3 separate regions of the Homo sapiens genome follow, and regions 2 and 3 are each linked to region 1. The links are contacts of gene promoters, found by promoter capture Hi-C in human tissues and cell types (Jung and others, 2019). All regions are on one chromosome and are shown on one strand. Each heading gives the region's core, a stretch centred on a gene start or on the middle of the fragment in contact. The rest is flanking DNA. Distances are from core to core; before and after follow the strand shown. Region 1 holds the start of PRH1 (proline rich protein HaeIII subfamily 1). Region 2 overlaps LOC107987435 (a long non-coding RNA gene). Region 3 overlaps SMIM10L1 (small integral membrane protein 10 like 1).

What was found. Contacts are between HindIII fragments. The study calls those that stand out against the background at their distance.
Region 2: a fragment that was not itself captured here is called in contact with the fragment with the promoter of PRH1 in region 1 in 3 of the 25 tissues and cell types used here (H1 embryonic stem cells, mesenchymal stem cells and spleen).
Region 3: a fragment that was not itself captured here is called in contact with the fragment with the promoter of PRH1 in region 1 in 1 of the 25 tissues and cell types used here (spleen).

What each region holds. Positions count from the first base shown.
Region 1 is chr12:10,881,294-10,886,182 of GRCh38, reverse strand. PRH1 (proline rich protein HaeIII subfamily 1) reads left to right here and starts at 1,928. Exons shown (of 4, transcript NM_001393989.1): 1 at 1,928-2,029; 2 at 3,087-3,122; 3 at 3,485-3,966. The coding sequence starts at 1,966. The coding sequence ends at 3,948. It overlaps PRH1-PRR4 (PRH1-PRR4 readthrough), which reads left to right. Exons shown (of 10, transcript NR_037918.2): 5 at 1,908-2,029; 6 at 3,087-3,122; 7 at 3,485-3,966. The HindIII fragment of the contact is 11,699 bases long and covers 1-4,889 here.
Region 2 is chr12:11,191,202-11,196,090 of GRCh38, reverse strand. The region is part of intron 1 of LOC107987435 (a long non-coding RNA gene); the gene reads right to left. It also overlaps the pseudogene LOC100420583. Among named protein-coding and RNA genes, the nearest start is that of TAS2R42, 6.7 kb to the right of the region's middle. The HindIII fragment of the contact is 3,631 bases long and covers 618-4,248 here.
Region 3 is chr12:11,172,145-11,177,033 of GRCh38, reverse strand. It overlaps SMIM10L1 (small integral membrane protein 10 like 1), which reads right to left. Exons shown (of 1, transcript NM_001271592.2): 1 at 1,018-4,889. Among named protein-coding and RNA genes, the nearest start is that of PRH1-PRR4, 3.0 kb to the right of the region's middle. The HindIII fragment of the contact is 4,439 bases long and covers 1-4,245 here.

The DNA.
Region 1 (4,889 bases), core at 679-3,178:
AACCAGAGACAATAATCTCCATAACGCATTGGGAGCTGCTGGGCTCAAGCAACTACTCTGTGCCTGAGATACAACTCATACGGCCCAGCTAGAGCTGATCTACTTCCCACAGGGCCAGAGAAGAATTGCCAATTAAGAATGCATTCCCCCCTGAAATAGGTCTATATTTATTCCAGGGAAAATACCAATCTGCCTGGGTCCCTTACAAGAACAATGTCGTCTGTAGCAAAATCTAATCTACTAGGAAGCCTTCTTGTATTATTATCTGCAACTTTTCAGAAGAGCCATACCAGACCCTCATATGCCCAGCACAGGATCCACTCATGCACACCTGTCTAGGGCCTTGTCTTTATGATTTTCTGTCACCTGGCTTCTCAGCCATGCCTCCAACCAAGCTATCCTCAAATAAAGACTAACCATGCACAAAAAGTGAAAAATTACACAAGACCTACTCAAGGTCTGAAATGGAAAGTGCAGCTGGTGATTCTGAGTAGTATATTTTATGAATTGATGAGCAGGGAATTTCTAGGTATCACAGAGCAATCAGCAGCTGAGGAGAGAGCGACAAAACCAGGACTCTGACAGGGCTTTTTGGAAACTTAATTTTTGGAGCAATCAGCAGCTGAGGAGAGAGCTACCAAACCAGGACCCTGACAGGGCTTTTTGGAAACTTAATTTTTTATTGTCAAATTATACAGACAAAAATGAAAGTAAAGGTAGTGAGGAGTACCACACACCTTTACTTAGAAGGATAAATAAAGGACACCTTTGTAGGGAGAAAAAAAAAGATATAGGACGAAAAGTAAACATGGCAAGGTAGACTCAGAATACAAAATTTCAACAAATAAGTGCGAGAAAAAGAATGAGAAAGAATGAGTATTGGAATATTACAGATAAAAATCCTTGGTGAGAAAGAACACTCTGATGAAACAGGTGACATAATTACTGAGTAAAAGCAGAAGACCAATCAAGGCAATTGAGGCTTGGACAGGTATTACAAATTATCTTAGATGAATGTATAATTGTGGCCATTTAATTATCAGTGATGACAATTACAATATTTATTAGAAGAAATAAAGTAGAGGATGAATTCTATGGAATATTCTGGAGAAAGTGGAGGTCTTAGCTATATGACATCGTGTGGCTCACTTAGGGAACCATATATTCAGTTTGTTCAGGTCTAGAAATTCCTTGGTGGTTTCTGAGTTCAGTTTTGCTTTAATAAACCCTAAAGATATTTTTAAAATACAAATATTTTAGCTTGCCTGTGTTGTATAGCACCAAGGCTTGCCTGAGTGTAGTGAGATTCACAGAAGTTTGGACAATTCTTGTAGCCTGAGCAGGCTGCCAGCACCTTTCTCTCATATATGTGTGCCTGGGAGTGTGCTGTCCTCACACATCTCACAGATAAGCAAGACCATCTCTGTTACATGAAAAATTTAGCTAAATGTGAAAATATCCACGCACACACATCATGAGAGATGGAAAGAGGCTATCAAAACAGTCAGAGATATTGACCATCTTCACTGTTAGCTGTAGGATCAGTGTCCACCCCCCGACACACCCACACAAACTCACATACACAGAAATGAAAAGCACAGTGAAAAGCAGAATAGCAGTCTTTCCAAACAGATTGAAAACCAAAAGATGTCTAAAGTTCAATCCTGACACTGTGCCGACTGCTTGGACACAGTTCCGTCAAAACATTTGTCCAAGTCATAGTTGTGCCTTTTAGGAATTAGACACAAACAATATCCTACCCAACCCTTCCTGCTGAGCTAGAGTCCCAAAAGAAATGAGGGATACACTTGACCTGAAGTAAGCAAAGCAGAAGCCAGTCTCTGAGGCGAGGAGGCCCACCTGGTAGGGAGCTCAAATGCACCATTGTCCTGCTTGTCTTTATAAAGGGAGCTGACACGTTTCTCCCAGCACAAAGTTGGGAGTGACACCAGAGCCTCCTGCAAGATGCTTCTGATTCTGCTGTCAGTGGCCCTGCTGGCCTTCAGCTCAGCTCAGGATTTAAATGAAGGTAAGATGAATTGGGGGAAGATATTGTGACTCTGATTGGGGTTTACAGGCAAATGCTATAGAGGAGGAAAGTGGAGGGAAGAGAGGAGGATGAGAAAACAGATGGGACTGCAGAGTTCTCATGCTGAGGATCAGAAGATCTATTGTACCTCCATTCCTCATCAAGGCCTCATAGTTTATTTGTTGCACAAATAGAATCCAATAAAGAATTCGTACTAGGGGTGTGAGAGAGTGAGATTTGCATTATATAGAGACATGGGACTGCTGTGAAGGATGTGGAGAATGCAAGACAGATTCAGGGAAGTACAGCTGTGAAGATCCTGTACTGATCCCAGTAGACAGGGATGATGGTGGCCTTGCTGTACAGTGGATGAGCATTAATGAAGGAGATAAACACATGTCAGAGCTACTGCCGAGGCAGAGAATTGGGTAAACACTTGTCTCTGTCTACATAGAGTTAGAGAATAACCAGAGTGAAACATTGTCATTTTTCTGTCTCCTGAATGTAGTATTTCAATGTGCTGGGAATGGCATGCGTAAGATTATATCCAAGTGGCTATGTCTGGTGGCTCCTGTTGAGAAGGCTTGCAAACATAAACAACATATTTACAGATGAAAGAGGGCAGAAGAATCCCCAAATATGTCATTGAAATACTCAGAGCAGTTTAACTAAATAAGCGCTAAGGGTTTACAGGCAAATGCTATAGAGGAGGAAAGTGGAGGGAAGAGAGGAGGATGAGAAAACAGATGGGACTGCAGAATTTTCATGCCGAGGATCAGAAGACCTATTGTATCTTCATTCCTCATCAAGGCTTGGGGAATCAAAAGAGGACAAACAGGGGCCCTTCTATGTTGAGTTCCTGGTTGACGCTCAGTGTAGTAACAATACTGCTTTCCCTTACATCTTCTTCCACTTCCAGTAGCATCAGAGAGTGGCTGATGAGATCACAAAGGGGATGCACAGGGTGTGATCAGAGGTCCTTTATCCTCGTAGAACACTATGAGCCTTGAATGATTCAGGAAGTAACTTTTCCCATCATCCTGTACTTCTTTTCTAGATGTCAGCCAGGAAGATGTTCCCCTCGTAATATCAGGTAAATCCCAATAAATTCTCAGTAAACTCTGTCTCCATTTTTCCCTGAAAAATTGATGAGTTCTCCAGTGTCTTCTTATCACCATTTTCTTGTCAGGAATTGGCTAATACCAATGCCCCAAAGATACAAACAGTTTTCTCCCAACCTTGATTCTGGGGACCATGAGTAAAGAAATTCAATTTTTCATCACCCTTATGTGGATTAAGAGGAGTTCTAATTAGGAAGCCTTGGGAAGGGGGGAGGTTGGGAGTTGAGAGGCAGGTCAGGCAGAGAGGGGCCGGCCGTGTGGTGAAGACAGAGAGGTATGAAGACAGGAGGGTTTTCCAGCATGAGCTCAGCTCTTCTTGTTTCAACTCACACAGATGGAGGAGACTCTGAGCAGTTCCTAGATGAGGAGCGTCAGGGACCACCTTTGGGAGGACAGCAATCTCAACCCTCTGCTGGTGATGGGAACCAGGATGATGGCCCTCAGCAGGGACCACCCCAACAAGGAGGCCAGCAGCAACAAGGTCCACCACCTCCTCAGGGAAAGCCACAAGGACCACCCCAACAAGGAGGCCAGCAGCAACAAGGTCCACCACCTCCTCAGGGAAAGCCACAAGGACCACCCCAACAGGGAGGCCATCCCCCTCCTCCTCAAGGAAGGCCACAAGGACCACCCCAACAGGGAGGCCATCCCCGTCCTCCTCGAGGAAGGCCACAAGGACCACCCCAACAGGGAGGCCATCAGCAAGGTCCTCCCCCACCTCCTCCTGGAAAGCCCCAGGGACCACCTCCCCAAGGGGGCCGCCCACAAGGACCTCCACAGGGGCAGTCTCCTCAGTAATCTAGGATTCAATGACAGGTACGATTCCAGTTTATTATCCATCAAAGGCTCCAACTGCTACAGTTCTCCAACTTCATTGTGCCAATGAATCCTCTGAAAACCTGTTAATATTGCCCTGTCCTGGAACACATTTCTAAAAATTGTTATTCAGATATTCTTGTATAGAGTATCAAGACCCTGTGACCCTGTGTTTTACAGAAGCTCTTGAAGGCAATTCTGATTTTGAGAATCACTATCTTCAAATTACATGTCTTAAGTAGGGTTGACAATGAGGACATAGAACCATGTTCCCCCTTTGGCTCTCTCTATTTTCTTTCCTCAAACTCAGACTCCCATTTAAAGTTTTCACCTGAACATGCTTTGCTCAGTCCTGCCTCACATCAGGCTTTCAGGTCCAGTATTCCTGCTAAGTGGTCCTTGAACTTTCAGTTGTAAAATGGTATCTCATTTTTAGTATACTTACATTTAAAGTCATACATGCTTAAGCTAACAAAAACTAATCTCACTGAACCGAAATGTACAGAGCTAAATAGTAAGAGCCTAACTCATCTTTCCTCCCTTCTATCCTTCTCAAAACCCCCACCTTTTACTCTTTGGAATCTACTTTTTGAAATATATATTGCTACATAAATATATATAATGCTTTTATTACAAGCACTTATACCATACTGTATATTCAGATTTGTGTCTTACTCACTGGAAAAATTTATTGTTTAGAAAACTTTCTCATGAGTTCATTTAGATCTCTTCAGTGTTTATTGGTTAGTTTGTTTTTACAATTGTATACTATTCTATTGTTTGGTTGTTCCGTAATCTATTTAACCAATCCCTGTCACTGGATATTAAGGCTGGATTCACATTCTCACTATTATATGATATGTTGCAGTGCCCATCTTTGTAAAAATAGCCCTTACATAACCAACAGCAGCAAAGCATGAACA
Region 2 (4,889 bases), core at 1,184-3,683, 310 kb before region 1:
AGCAAAAAGAGGAAATCCTTAACTCCATATACAGACTTAAAAACTTTCACCTTATTTGTTTTTGTCTTTGAGCACCAGTGAATTTTCAAAGAATTGTCAGAACTGTATTTCAGATAACCATAGGCAGCTTTTAACCTATGGGCAACAAGCAGAAACAAAGGTTTCCTTTCTCCAGTTAGAAGGTAATAAAGTAGTATTCACAGATTTCTGAAGAGAAACAAGTGTAAATCTTATATGTTCAGCCATTTTATCATTGAAGTGTGAGGGTAAAATCAAGTCATTTATGGACAATGCCATGGCTCAGAAATACTGCGACACTTGCATCTTTCCTGAAAAAAATTGAGCCAAGTCAAGATAAAACAACCAATAAAAGGCACAGCATGGCAAATAAGCAGCAGTGGTGAGTGAGCACTCAAACCAGCAAAACTTTTACTTGTTTAAACAATTTTTGTTTATGTGGTTTTGAATTTTATTTAAAAATATAAGTAAATGAATTATATGACTAATAATGTAAAGAACCATCAGCAGTAGTTTGGAAGTAAATTCTAGATGTTTTCAACAAAATCTAAGAGCTAGGAAGAGCTCTGGGAGAAAATAATTTTATAATAAATGAGGTCCTCTTGGAGCAGGAGTATTATAATCAATCTTGTTAAATTTGCTATGTTTACTGAAAATTATGAATTTAATTCGCTTTATAAACACTTCAATGATAACTACTAGTAGATTAGAAATACGGGTAAGAACTTTTTTTTTTTTAACCACTGGAGTGACAAGAAAAGGCAGTATAAAGTCTTGGTCAGCTCAGCAAAGTCAGGAAAGAAAATAAATCGAAAGCAAAATAAACAAGAAAAGACAAAAATAAAATATCAATCATAAGATCAAATGTACTAATCAGTACTACAAATGGTTTAATTCCATTACATCTCTCCCATAAGTGGTCTGTAGCTGGATTTGTATGAAGAAGTCAAATCCAACGATAAACTATTTATAACAACAAAAAAAAGAGATAGGGATATAAGTATCACATACAAGCACACAAAAATAACAGAAGACTGAAAGTTTTAATATCAGACAAACTAATAAGTAAATGAACAACTGCCATGAACAGTTATATGGATATTTGCAAAATATGTGTCTATATATTAAGGCAAACCATACCAAATATACTCTCCAAATTTGATATAAAAATCCATCTAGTTAGCTGCACATAGTGGCTTATGCCTGTAATCCCAGCACTTTAGGAGGCTGAGGCGGGAGGATTGTTTGAGATCAGGACTTTCAGACCAGTCTAGGCAACATAGCAAGACTCTGTTTCTACAAAACATAGAAGAAAATAGCTGGGCATGGTGGTGCGTACCTAAAATCCTAGGTACTCAGGAGGAGGAGGATTGTTTGAGCCCAGGCAGCTGAGGCTGGACTGAGCCATGGTTGTGCCACTGCACTCCAGCCTTGGTGACAGGGCAAGACCCTATCTCAAAACATCTCACAGATGTTTGTACCCATCTGTGTATTTTAGCTTCTGAAAAATGATGATTCATTTTTAAATAGTTAAATAAAAATATATTTCTCAAAATATATAAAGAAAAGAAAAGGAAATTTAGATAAAAACAGAGAGCCATGGTTCTTTTCTGGGCCATATTACATTCATACACACAGCAAATAAATCACGGAAGAGTGGATATATATAAGAAAATTAGTGACAGTGTCCAGTTGCATTTCAGATGACAACAGCACACAATTATTAGCTTCATTCTTTCACATTGTAGCCATTACAAAACTGTTACGTTTAATTAAAGGACTGAAAACTTTTTAATCTTCTAAATGGCTGTAATGCCACCACTTTGAAGTTTTGTTGTGCTAGTTAAATGGCACAATGTATAAAAATGCCTGGCACTGTGCTTTGCACATGCTGAGTGCTCAATAACAGACGCCAATATTATTTTAAAGAGACCTTGCCCTATCTGAATTTTCCAAATAAGTGCTAATAAAGCTTTTGTTTATCACCTAGGCCCAGAGTAGAATTTTATACTCTTGATTCACAGTAAAACAGAATTTAAATTTCATTTATAATTATCAAAACTTGTTAGGATGAGAAAAAGTAAAGCAGATATTATCCTATATAACTGGAATTTTCTTCTACAGTACCTTGGTATTCATTGAAAATAGTTGGATTTCAATAACAGGTATGAGTTGCCTCAATTTTTAAAAATTAACTAAAATTAACTATATGCAAGTTGTATGACTCACTTAGAAAACCAATGTTTGCTTTCTTAAATATGGCTCCTTGAGCCAATAGTAATTAGATCCCCCTTCCTTATGCCTATGAAATAACAAGAAATAAATCAATGGAGACAATCACTTGCCCTCACACCCTAACACATACCCTTAGAGAGAGACCAGAGAAAAGTTAGTTTGGTTCTCATGAACAGAAGCAGATGGAGGTGGAAGGAGCCATGTTCACTAGATATAACATGATTGATGTTAAAAAAAAAATCAGTAGAATGGAACTCTGATATCTAGCTCTACTATGCTCCCCCAAGAGATGATGAAGATCTGAGTCCAAAGCACCCAAGACCTGGTTCTCATGCAACCATTTAACACTGTGTCAGCTTTAAATTACATCTGTCCCAAGAATGGTCCTCAGACCCAGCAGTAGGGCCAGAGATGAATGGAAACCCACCTACATTGTTGAGGATGATCTTCTTTTCTCAGTCAACCAATTTAAATGCTAATCTCTTTCAGACAGCATCACAGACACACCCAGAAATCACGTTTTAAGTTCAGGGGTACAAACACAGATTTGTTTCATAAGTAAGCTTGTGTTGTGGGGGTTTGTTGTACAGATTATTTTATCACCCAGGAATTAAGCCTAGTACCTAATAGTTATTTTTCTGATCCTCTTCATCCTCCCACCCTCCACCCTCCAAGAGGCTTCAGTGTGTGGTGTTCCCCTCTATGAGTCCACGTGTTCTCATAATTTAGCTCCCACTTATAAGTGAGAACAGGCAGTATTTGGTTTTCAGTTTCTGTATTAGTTTGCTAAAGATAATGGCCTCCAGCTCCATCCGTATCCCTGAAAAGGACATGATCTTATTCTTTTTTATGGCTGCATAGTATTTCATGGTGTATATGTACCACATTTTCCTTACCAGTCTATCATTGATGGGCATTTGGGTTGATTCCATGTCTTTGCTATTATGAACAGTACTGCAATGAACATTTGCATGTATGTGTCTTTATAACAGAATGATTTATATTCCTCTGGGTATATACCCAGTAATGGGATTGCTGGGTCGAATGGTAGTTCTGGCTTTAGATCTTTGAGGAACTGCCACATTTTCTTCCACAATGGCTGAACTACTTTACATTCCCACCAATAGGGTATAAGCACTTCTTTTTCTCCACAACCTCACTGGCATTTGTTATTTTTCGACTTTTTAATAATAGTCATTCTGACTGGTGTGCAATGATATCTCATTGTGGTTTTGATTAATTTTTCTTGAATGATCAGGGATATTGAGCTTCTTTTCATATGCTCATTGGTTGTCATGCATTTTCTTAAGTTAATATATGCACAAATGCAAGTCAATCATTTTATCCAGAGCCAGGCATATAGTAAGAGTTCTAGAAATGATACCTTTTATTATTGTTGTTGTTACTATTGTTTTTTATAATTAGTAAAATACATGGCTGCTATGGTTTGAATATGTCCCCCAAAGTTCATGTGTTAGAAGCTTGATCCCCAGTGTGGAGGTTTTTGGAGGTGGAAACTTTAAGAAGTGTTTAGGTCATGAAGGCACAACCCTCATAAATGGCTTAACACAATTATTGAGTAGTGGGTTTGTTATTACAGGAGCTGATTCCTTATACAAGGACAAGTTAAGCCCCATTCTCGTTCTCTCTCTCTCTTTTTGCCCTTCTCCCATAAGATGACACAGTAAGAAATCCCTTACCACATGCTGGCACCTTTATATTGGACTTCCCAGACTCCAGAATTGAGGAATAAATTTCTTTCTTTATAATTTTCCCAGTTTGTGGTATTTTGTTAGAGCAGCACAAAGCAGGCTAAGACAGGAAATTGGTATGGGAGGAGCAGGCTAGAAAAAGCCTAGATTGCCACAAATTTTGTATTAAGAGTGATTCCACTGAGGTCTCAGGCGAGGATAACTGTAGGGAAAGTCTGCAACTTCTTAGAGATTACTTTTATGGTCCTGATGAGAATGTTGGTAGACATATAGAGAGTAAACGCCATTCTGATGAGGTCTCAGGTGGAAAAGAGAAATGTCTTATTGGAAACTGGAGTAAGGATCATCCTTGTTATGAAGTGGCAAAAAAACTTGGCAGAATTCTGTTCATGCCCTTTGGCTTTATGGAAGGCAGAATTTAAGAGAGGTGAACTACGATATCTGATGGAAGAGACATCTCAGCAGCAAAACATTCAGTGGGCTCCATGGCTTCTTTCAAGCACATATAGTAAAATGTTGAGGAGAGAGAAATGATTTAAAGATGGAATTTATAATGAAAAGTGAAGACTAATAGAAAAATTTGGAGAACTCTCAGCCTGGCCATATAAAGAATAAAAAAGCATGTTCGAGAGAGAATAAGAAGGGTTTGGCCAAGTGGTCATTTGCTGAAAATATTAATCTGGCTAGAAGGAAGCCAAGTTCTATTCATAAGACAAAGGGAGAATGACCTGGAAGATATTTCCGAGATCATGGAGTTAGGACCAGAAGTTACGCAAGTTAGGACCTTAAGGTCAAAGCTTCCAGAGAGGTGCCTGAAAGACCTCAGCATTCACTGCCCTGTGCTGCCTCACAAAACCAGTCTGGGAGATCTATAGGCACAAAACTCCAACCTGTGAGAGCTGCTCAGGAGTGAACTGAGACAAG
Region 3 (4,889 bases), core at 777-3,276, 290 kb before region 1:
TGATCAGATGGTTGGCTTGATAAATTCAGAAAAATGTTAGGCAATATTTTTTTGGGAAGGTTATTTGTAGAAGAAATCCCAGGTGACAGATAAACTATTTTCAATTTTAGCTATTTTGAGGGGCACCAATGTAGATGCAGCTTCAGAAGACAAAGGCATTATCCTGACTTGTATATTGCCACCTCTATTCCTTAGCCCCATGTTTAATAAATGAATCAGTTCTGGAAATAAGTTAGCTTCCCTTTTATATAGATATAACCTGGCCCCTGAACTTTGAAGCTTCTATTATTTTCCTTTTAGACTTCAGTTTGAGATACTTTCACAGTTTTCAAAAACCAATTAAAAAGTGAAAATGATCTCTTGAACAACAGTTCTTTTTTTAAGCATCTCGTATTTTTGGCTTTTTGTTTTTTTGAGACAGGGTCTTGCTCTGCAGCCCTGGCTGGAGTGCAGTGGCATGATCACAGCTGTTTTCTTTTTTTTTTTAATCTGCTGAACATAATCTCTAATTCTCTGCCAATGATCTTAGTTACAGTATTTCATTATTTGGTGGTGTGATTTTTTTCTCCCTCTTTTTGGCTGATGAAAAGTTGTACCCAACTTCCCTCACTAATAATATGAATGATCTCCATTTCTCTTTATTGTTCATTGATGCATGCCACTATTTTACAGTGGCTAAGTCCATATGCTTGGTGTTGAAAGCCATGGAGATGGTGAAGATTTTGTAATGTTCATTGCAGATCCCTAATCAGGATAGAAACTGGCAGGGATGTCCTGCAATTAAGCTACTAAGACTTCCATAGTTTCTTCATTTGTAGTAGGCTTTTGGGAAGGTCCTTGGGCCTTTTAGTTGTCCCAAGAGCACTGCTGAAATTTGTATTTGTGGAGAGTAGGGGTAAGGGGAGGTTTACTTATATTTTGAAAAGATCTCATGACTTGACCTGGTGGTAATCCTGCTGAGCAAATCCTATTAAGTCTAGTTTGTTCAGGCTGCTATAAAAAATACCATAAAATGGGTGCTTATGAACAACAGAAATTTATTTCTTATAGTTCTAGAAGCTGGGAAGTCCAAGATCCAGGCATTCACAAATTTGGTATCTGGTGAGGGTTCATTTCCTTGTTCATAGATGACTTTTCCCTATAACCTTACATGGCAAAAGGGGTAAGGGAATTATTTTGGGGTCTCCTTTATAAAGGCACTAATCCCATTCACGAGGGTTTCATCTTTATGACCTGATCACCTCCCAAAGGTCCCATCTCCTGAGATCATCACTTTGGGGGTTAAATGCCAACATGTGAATTTTTGGGGGGCACATTCAGACCATAGTACAAGTGTTAAAACTGCAAGAAGAATCCCCACACTCAAGGTAACCCAAGTAATAGACTAATATGAATCAATCCAACCCAATTGTTGGGAATTCTCATAGTTCTTGCAGAGGTTCTTTTCTTGGTTCATTTTCTTGGAACTTCCCAAGTCGTCTTTAGACTACTTTCCATGCTCAAACTTCCAAGTATTAGGATATTCCTTTCCCTCATCTTTTGTCCCTATATTCCTCAACTTTCATCCTACCCCTTTATGCTTCTGCATGTAACTTTATTTTCTTCTTGACGCTATCAAAAGCTATTGATGTCCTGCCAGAAAGATCTCCCATTAAAAGCAAACTGCAAGATTTTCTAACAAAATTTAGTTAGGGATCCTCAGGACAGGAACAGACATGGCTTCAAAATTTAACATTGTCTGATCTCTACTCTGGGTAGCACAGGAAAGTGTTTCCCTTCCATTCTGAGGACAACGTTCTTTCCTCTCTCTCCCTTTGCTCCCATATCCCTCAATCCCACCAACCCTCTAATAAAATAAGCCAATAGGTTTAAGGCTGCAGAGAGTATAAAATACTTGAACTTACATATCAAATCATGTTAAATATTTATATTTTAGTATGAAAGACCCTCAATAGTTATGTTAAAAAAAATAACTATTACCCAGGTAATATTTCTGTCCAGAAATTTGAGAAACAGAATTATTTGTAATTATCTACACATTTAAGAAAATTGAACTCCTTATGAAATATAACTTTAGGAATTACTGGAGATTCATTTGAGGTCTGGTTGGTTATCATGACCTTAGGAATTTACTTAACCTCTCTAAATCCCGGTTTGCTTCTCTGAAAAATGATAAAAATGTTTTCCTCACAGGGTATATGTGAGAATTACGGAGCTCATGTATATAAATAGTTTTTCATAGTTCCTGGTATTAAAAACTCAATATATTTTAAAAATGATGCTGATGGTAATGATATGCTATTTGTCAAGTAATCACATGTATTTTTACCCAGAATTAAAAAAAAAAAAACAACTTTTCCCCTATCCCTTAGGTTACATATGTTGCTATGTTCACTGTTTTCCTTTTATAGTTAAAATAAGCTGTAACGCATCGTTTCCCATTTTTTTTTTTGCCAGCTACATTTCTTATCTCTATTGATAATAACTATACCACCTATGTCTCTGCTTTTTCATGCTTGAGGGATCTCTGGATCAATCAACGTGCATGATGGCCTGAAAAAGCCCAATTTATGGGCAATAAAGTGAATCATCTTATTATCAGGAACGAATATATGTTTCCTTTATTGACTGCTGACTATGTAGAGCATACCAACAAAATTGCCATTCATCTATCCATTCAACAATATTTATTAGCTATTCCGCACTGGGCAGTGCTCTAGGCTTGGGGATAGAACAGTGAACAAACAAAATCCTTAGCCTAATGGATATTACCTGGAAGTGTGCCAGGAAGAATAAACTCACTTGTGAATTACAACAATAAGTGGTTTATTCAGGTCAAAATCTTGTTTTGTCTCCTGGGAATTTCACTGAATTGCATCATGTAGGAGGCAAACTATACCCCAAGAATTAAGAGCAATTGTGAATAAATGATAAACCACAGAGTTTACATTTACCTCCTAATACATTTAACTCCTAATATATATATATACATATATTACGAGGTAAATGTAAGCTGTAACTTTATGCATATATTGTAAGTAGTAACTATACATATATACTTATATACTGTATACATATATAGTAAGTAGTAACTATACATATATACATATATAGTTACTACTTAAATTTATATATGTGTATGTATATATATATGTATATATACAGTACACACACATACTGTTACTACCGGGTGTAAAATTGAATAGGATATAGTGTCTTCCCTCACAGAGCTGCCAATTATGTTGGAGGATGTAATAAATACAAAGTCTGTTTCTTCATCTTCGGTTTAACAAATGACTGATGTGAGGAAAAAAGTTATAGGAATATGTTCACATAGTCACCCAAATGGAGCATCCTACTCTGTCACCATTTCAGGATTAAGACTAGACAGTCTTTTGTGTTACAAATTGGGACATCAGTGCTCTGGGAAACAGTGATGTCCACGATTCTAAATCCCTTGGTATTACTATTTCATTGATTAAACTACACTTCTGATATTTTAGACTAAAATGTTTTGGCTTATCGCAGTCTAGGAAACCTGTCTTGGGTATATAAAACAGACAGTTGATGCACGATTAGGGAAAAATAAGGCAACCTATGAAAATGGCCTTATGGATTAAAAGAAGTGAGCTCCTATATGGTCAGTGGAATCCAGGAAAAATTTAATGGAAAAAGCGCCACCTAAGCTTAGCTTTAAAACACAGAGTATCTTCAGGTAGAAAAGGCTATAGGAGAATGTGCCCAAATGGAGTTTGGCTGGAGACAAAGAATAAAGACTAGAAAGAACAATTACCCTAGGCCAGACATGGTGTTGGACGGGGCAAGATGCTTACTACTTAAAGCCATAGAACACTGTTTGCTGGACACAATGAGTGGAATATAGAACAATGCAACTATTTTAACACTTTACCCCTCTTAGTGGTTTATTAGTTAATTTTTTCCTGAAAAAAAAAATGCGTATACTACTTTTTCTGCACTTTTCTATATCAGATCTTGATTTAAAACTTTACCACTCTTGGTGATTTATTATTAGTTTTTTTAATCCGAAGAAAACATGTGTATACTCCTTTTTCTGCATTTTTCTATATCAGATCTTGATTGGCTCACCACCATTACACACACACACATCTCTTTTCTCCCATCCTCCCAGCGTTATAGAATCATTTGTTGTAAAATCAGTATTCAGTATTTACATAATTATGACTGACTTTACATGACTACTATTATTCACAGTTGAGGTATACCGTGTATACAGTGTAGTTTTTAAATTTTTATTTTTCTCAGCGTTCAAAATTATATGTTCTGTTTTCTTAATTTTGAAAAATATGCATTCACTAATTTATCCCCACACTCTTTGGAAAATGAAAGCTCTCTAGGCTGTATTCAAATACACCAGGTACTCTATCAATTTTCATTTTTTAAACTATTCTACCTGAGCTCTCCATCTTTAGCCATTTCCTGTTGACTTCATACTGTTCTCCCCTACCACTCTCCCTCTTTAATATATTACCGTTTTAGAAACTTTATGGCTACCCTGTAAGTAATAAAAATGTCTTTCCCCACTCAACAACAGACAGTACCTTTCAAGTTTCCACTTTATAAGGACATAACCCCCATTCCATTTACTTCCCCCGCCCTCCTTCAACATTCCCACTTGTATTTTCCGGCTGTATTTTTAAAACATGGTAAATAACATTTGCACTCCACTTTGTAACCATAATTAAGTATGCCCTTAAACAATAAAAACCATAAACAACATTTGTATTTTACGATTATTTAAATGTTATTCACTGAACAGCCAAGCTTTGTGCTACTATGGGATTTCGTTTTCTGCGGTTCCAAGTCTTGATCCACGTCCTGCCACAGGATCACTGAAGTAGAGCCCATTT